2 separate regions of the Homo sapiens genome follow, and region 1 is linked to region 2. The links are contacts of gene promoters, found by promoter capture Hi-C in human tissues and cell types (Jung and others, 2019). All regions are on one chromosome and are shown on one strand. The core of a region is centred on a gene start or on the middle of the fragment in contact, and the rest is flanking DNA. Distances in the headings are between cores, read along the strand shown. Region 1 overlaps ARID4B (AT-rich interaction domain 4B). Region 2 holds the start of TBCE (tubulin folding cofactor E).

Region 1 (3,154 bases), core at 513-3,012, 79 kb before region 2:
ACACTCAGGAGGCTGAGGGAGGAGAATTGCTTGAACCCAAGAGGCGGAGGCTGGAGTGAGCCAAGATCGTGCCACTGCACTCCAGCCTGGACGACAGAGTAAGACTCTGTCTCAGAAAAAATAAATTTTTTTTTTTTACCTTTTTTCTCCTCACTGCTGACTTCTATTTCAGAAGAGCAGATCTGATCCCAGACTACTAAACAAAGAAAAGAGAACTAGAGAGACACCCAAACTGCAGGGGAGGTTGTAGTAACAAAGCAGAAGACAAAAGGAAATTCCAGGTGAGGCTACAGGGCAAGAACAGTCTCATTGTGTGTTCTGTCTTGAATGTACCAGAAACTACCAGTGTTCATGATGGTATATGAGAAAGAATCTACTTATTTTTATTTTTCTACTTGCCCTAAAGTAATAAACATGCATCACATCAAGCAAATTAATGCCTAATTATCAGCAAATTAGTAAACTATTTCTGTTGACACCTTTATTCTCTACCCAGTAATTCAACCGGCAGCTACTATTTTCACTAAGTACTGTTAAATAAGCTTGACAAAATGAGATACTCTTACATGAATTCCTGGTCCTAAAGAATTTAGTCCTTTCTTCAGCATACAAATTAATGCATGAATTCATTTGCTTTATAAAACTATAAAAATACAGAAGTATACAAAAAGCAAATGTCTCCTTTTATCTTCTCTGTTCCCACATCCCTCGGGGACATAACTACTGTCTCCTTATTTAGGGTATTTTTCCAGTCTTACTCTGCCTTTACAGGGACCTATGTACAAAACAATGTATTTTTTCCAAATAAATTTTAAATTGGCCTTTAGTTGTACAGTCTATGAGCATATTATCCTTGTAAAAATAATAAAACATTAATGTGGCTGGGCGCAGTGGCTCATGCCTGTAATCCCAGCACTTTGGGAGGCCAAGGCGGGTGGATCACCTGAAGTCAGGAATTTCTCAAGACCAGGCTGGCCAACATGGCGAAACCCCTTCTCTATTAAAGAAATATAAAAATTAGCCAGGCGTGGTGGTGGGCACCTGTAGTCACAGCTACTCAGGAGGCTGAGGCAGAACTGCTTGAACTCAGGAGACGGAGATTGCAGTAAGCTGAGATTGCACCACTGCACTCCAGCCTGAAAAACAGAGTGAGACTCCATTTCAAAAAAAAAAAAGTAAGTCCTAAATTACTACACTCAATTCCCATTAATAATCACTATTCTCATTTTGGCATATGTTCTTCCAGGTTTTTTCCAGACCTTCACTTACATACACGTACATGTATCCATATTTAATAACATTTCTGTGAATCTATTTTTACATAACTGGTACTACATTTAATATACTGTCTTTCAACTTTTCTTTCATTCAAAAAATGTTTTAGAGATCTTTCTACATCAGTAAACACAAACTGTCGAATTAATTTTGTGCTATAACCATTGTAGGAATTTGCCATGGTTATTTAGCTTGTCCTCTACTGGTGATATTAAGTGGTTTTCTGTTTTTCCCTATTAAAGAGGGCAGCCACAAACATATTCATGCCAGCTTCCTTGTGCACCTGTACATGGGCTGCTTCTGGGTAGGTATCAAAAGGGAGCACAAAGAACATGAACATTTTTTATTTTAAGACATAACCCAAATTCTCCCAAGGAATTTCTGAAGTATAATTCTGGTGCCTTAAAGGCCAACACATAATGAAAAAAGAAGACTCTTAGTTACAGTTAAGTGTTCTATTTTCAACCAAAACTTTTCTAATCCTAGAGGAGTTTAACAATCTGGCATCTTGAACAGAAATCACCATTAATTTCTGCACCAGTTATTAGCAATGCAATATCTTAACAGTCTTGAAAGATCCATTTATTCAACAATAATTACCAAAATTAAAAACACACAACCCTGGCCCCAGGAATAAATGGCCAAATTCATCCAATAGCTATACTTGCACATGTGTGAGATAACATATATTCAAAGTTATTCATCACAGATGCAAGTCAGTAGGTCTGGCCAAAAGTCCAGCTAAATTCAAAGTGACATAATAAATTATGATCCTGGAAGGGAATTCAATGTATGACTTACTTCAAACAGTAAATTAACTCAAAGTTTGGGAGCTATAAAATATTGATAAATTTAACCATTAAAAAATTGCTCAATGGCAAAAAAATACACAAAGCAAATATATCAAAATATAAATGACAAACTCTACAAAAAGTTATTTATAATTCACATCACTAAAGAGCTTGACTCTCATACATAAAGAACATCTAAAATCAGTAATTTTTTTTAGAGACCAACCATTCAGGCCAGGCAAAGTGGTTCACTCCTATAGTCCCAACACTGGGAGGCCGAGGTAGGTGAGGTGCTTGAGCCCAGGAGTTCGAGACCAGCCTGGACAACATAGTGAGGCCTTATCTCTATTAAAAAATTTAAAAATTAGCCAGCATGGTAGCATGTGCCTGTAGCCCCAGGTACTCAGGAGGTTGAGGTGGGAGGATCACTTGAGCCTGGGAGGTTCAAGGCTGCAGTAAGCCGTTATTGGACCACTGCACTCCAGCCTGGGGGACAGGAAGGAGATTCTGCCTCAAAAAAAAAAAAAAAAGCCAACCATTCAACAGAAAAATGGGCATATGACATAAAAGGATATTTCATATAAAAAGAATTACAATGGACTCAACACTTGAAAAGATGCTCATACTCATTCATAAATTCGATGTAAAACCTACTAAATAAAAACAATTCAAAACACAATTTTTCGCACGCATCCATAGTTTCAACTACTTGGGAGGCTGAGGCAGAAGAACTGCTTGAACCTGGGAGACAGAGGTTGCAGTGTGCCCCTATCATGCCACTACACTCCCTCCAGCCTGGACGATATAGTGAGACTCTATCTCTAAAAAAAAAAAACCCACACCATTTTTCACTATCAGATTGGCAAAAATTCAGAAATTCAGAAGTCTAGTAATGTACACGGCAGGTAAGTTATGGGAAAATGTTAGCCTTCATATTGCTGCTGAGAATGTAAATCTGTATAACCTGAACGGGAAACGATTATAGAAATAAAAAATGCAGGCCGGGCAGATCACTTGAGGTCAGGAGTTCAAGACCAACTTGGCCAACATGGTGACACCTGTCTCCACTAAAAATACAAAACTTAGCG
Region 2 (3,321 bases), core at 248-2,747:
ATTCATGGGCTTCAAAGGATTAATCAGTCCTTGAAATCATACGCAAAATTTGTGTGTAGGTAGATAGCTTTTATCAGATTTCCAATGTGGTTTTTAATCCCCTCTTCCAAAGAAAAAACAATCACTGTAATATCTAGTTTCTAGTTTCAAGGAGTGAACTATCAAAGTATAAAACAGTAGAGACATCCAGCAGGATACTGACTGTTTGTGTCCATTTAATATGACAATTAGAAGGTCACTTCTTGGAAGAGTCATTTGGCTTTGCTCCCTCAATTTCCTTTCCACTTCACCTCACTTCAGTCTGGTTTTGGAATGCTAACACTCACTCTACCCAAACTGCTCTTGTTGTGGAGTCTGTGGTATCCACCAATGGGTTCTTTCTGCCTGCTGCACAAACAAAATTAATTGACAGAAACCATGGCATTGCAGTAAAGAAAGTTTAATTGACGCGAGGCTGGCCATGCCACGTGGGAGACAGAGTTGTTACTCAAATCCATCTCACCAAAGGCTCAGAGGTTAGGGGGTTTTTCAGATAGTTTGACAGGTACGGGGCCAGGGAATGGGGAGTGCTGACTGGTTGGGTCAGAGGTGAAATCATAAGAAGTAGAAGCTGTCCTCTTGCACTGAGTTGGTTCGTGGATCCCCAGGTTGATGAGTCAGGGTGGGGCCATCCACTTGTCAGAAATGCAAAAACCTGAAAAGACATCTCAAAAGGCCAATCTTAGGTTCTACAACAGTGATGTTATCTGCAGGAATGATTGGGGAAGATGCGAATTTGTGACCTGTGGAATAATGGGTGGTAATCATTTAACTACAATTACAACTTAGAAGAATTCAGGACCCTCTCATTCTCCTAACTTGGTGGCCTTTCATTTAGTTTTAAAAGGGCAGTTTTGGGGAAGGGTTATTATCATTTAAACTATAAACTAAATTTCTCCCAAAGTTAGTTTGTCCTGTGCCCAGGAATGAGCAAAGACAGCCAGTCTGTGAGGCTAGAATCAAGATAGGAGTAAACCATGTCAGATTTCTCTTACTGTCAAAATTTTGCAAAGGCGGTTTCAACAGAAATTAACATGTCTAGGATAGTTGCTTTTTCTATTATTTTTTCTATCACTGCATTTACTTTCATTCTGCCTTATGCTTTAACTAGGTAATTTTTTTTTTTTTTTTAGTTTTGGCGGTATCAACACTATATTCTTCTCTTTGACCACCGCATGCTGCCTACGTGGTAGACTCTCAATACGCATGGAACTGAACCTCTTACAGGATTTGTAACTCACTTCTGTGGTATCTAGTAAACTGGAACACGCGCTTTCCCTGGGCTGCTCTGTCATCCCAGGTTTCAGCACTCGGAAATCGCTTGGGCCCCCGCCCAGAGGCGGGGCTTGGGTGGGCTGACCACTCCTCTGGCCTCCAATACTGTCGCTGACATTCTCGTCTATGCTCCAGCAGCCGTACCTCACTCCGGTGGAGGCGGGACTTCCTACAGCACTTCCGGCCAGAGCCTCAAGCTTCGCTGCTGGGCAGTTGGCTGGAGGGGCTGCTGCTGGGAACACCTGGAGTCTCCGCGGGCAGGTGAGCTTCAGAGGTTCGGGGAGCTTTCGGAACGAGCATTCCTGGCCGGTGCGTCACCCTGCAGTGCTCTTGGCCTTTTCTTCCTTTCCTGGAATCTTCCCAGATTGCCAGAGCCGGGCGTTGCCTGCTCCGTGCGCTGGGAGGCGGTCCAGCCGGCTGGGTTGGGGCCACCCTGCGCCTCCTGGAAGGCCTTATTTAGGAGTAGCCGCACGTGATCTCTAGCATTTTAAGCTTCTCTCAGAGAATTGGCATGTCACTTTGGAAGAGGTGAAAATGGTACAGGCGACCAACGACTTTTACAAGGTGTCACCTTAGAGGAACAGCCTCGTCCTTCCGAATCAGTTAACATTGGTGATGACAGAGAAATAACGTTAAATAGGTGGAGAGCACTTAAAGTAACTGTTTGTTCTTTTGAGACAGTCTTGCTCTGTCGCCCAGGCTGGACTGCAGTGGCGCGGATCTCTGATCTCGGCTTACTGCAACCTCCGCCTCCTGGGTTCAAGCGATTCTGCTGCCTCAGCCTCCCGAGTAGCTGGGATTACAGGCGCGTGCCACCACGCTCGGCTAATTTTTGTATTTTTAGTAGAGACAGGGTTTCTCCATGTTGGCCAGGCTGCTCTCGAACTCCTGATCTCAGATGATCCACCCGCCTCGGCCTCCCAAACTGCTGGGATTACAGGCGTGAGCCACCGCGCCCGGCCTAAAGTAACTATTTTTACTTGGTGTTTACTACCAAATGGGGACTGTTCTAAGTTGTGGGTGGATCCAAATGATGGTGTGACAGCCTTATCCTCAGAGAAGCAGTCCTGGCAGGAAGACGGGGTTAACAAATTGCCAAACTGTTAGAGAAAGTTAGTGGAGGTAGAGATGAAGAGAGAAGACTTTTCTTTTCTCTGGCATTAATTTAGCCACGGCCGCTGTGTTTTGATACTTGCTTCAAACGTTTTTCATATTCTTAAGTTTTAACTTTTCTGTATGCTCATATTTTATATACTGTTGTAAACAGCATATCTCTGGGTTTTTTTTTTAATCTAAGTGGACAGCCTGCTTTTTTTTTTTTTTTTTTTTTTTGATATGGAGTCTTGCTCTGTCGCCCAAGGCTGGTGTGCAGTGGCCCAATCTCAGCTCACTGCAACCACGCCTCCCAGGTTCAAGCATATCTCCCACCTCAGCCTCCCGAGTAGTTGGGATGACAGGTGTGTGCCACCATGCCCAGCTAATTTTTTTTTTTTTGTATTTGTAGTAGAGATGGGGTTTCGCCATGTTGGCCAGACTGGTTTTGAAGGCCTGACTTCAGGTGATCCACCTGCTTCAGCCTCCCAAAGTGCTGGGGCTACAGGTGTGAGCCACCGTGCCCAGCCCAGTCTGCCTTTTGACTAGCAGGTTTATTGGATTTACATTCATTGTCACTACTGAAATATTTGTCTAGATGAAAATCTTTGGTATCATCCCTGATTAATCTCTTCCATATATATCAGCAAATCCTATGGACTCTCCACCTTTAAAATCTGTCCACACTCCCAGGCTCTTGTTATCACCTTCACTTGTTCAAGTTACGTTGTCTCGTACTTGAATTACTGCAGTAGTTTCTGCTCTTTCCTCTTTTAGTCTGTTTGCATCACAGTATCTCGGTTGATCCTTTAAAAAAAAATCAGATTTATGTCTTTCCTCTCAAAAATCCTCCAAGGACTACACATTTCACCTGGAGTGAAAGCCAAAGTCGGCCGGGCGTGGTGGCTCATGCCT

The links. Contacts are between HindIII fragments. The study calls those that stand out against the background at their distance.
Region 1: a contact is called between a fragment that was not itself captured here and the fragment with the promoter of TBCE in region 2, in 3 of the 25 tissues and cell types used here (adrenal gland, mesenchymal stem cells and pancreas).

The regions. Positions count from the first base shown.
Region 1 is chr1:235,287,146-235,290,299 of GRCh38, forward strand. All of the region lies in intron 2 of ARID4B (AT-rich interaction domain 4B), which reads right to left. Among named protein-coding and RNA genes, the nearest start is that of ARID4B, 39 kb to the right of the region's middle. The HindIII fragment of the contact is 9,052 bases long and covers 1-3,154 here.
Region 2 is chr1:235,365,930-235,369,250 of GRCh38, forward strand. It overlaps TBCE (tubulin folding cofactor E), which reads left to right and starts at 1,498. Exons shown (of 17, transcript NM_003193.5): 1 at 1,498-1,575. LOC124904559 (a long non-coding RNA gene) reads right to left here and starts at 1,491. Exons shown (of 2, transcript XR_007066957.1): 1 at 1,281-1,491; 2 at 424-694. RefSeq lists enhancers at 1,205-1,918, 1,458-1,797. The HindIII fragment of the contact is 12,392 bases long and covers 1-3,321 here.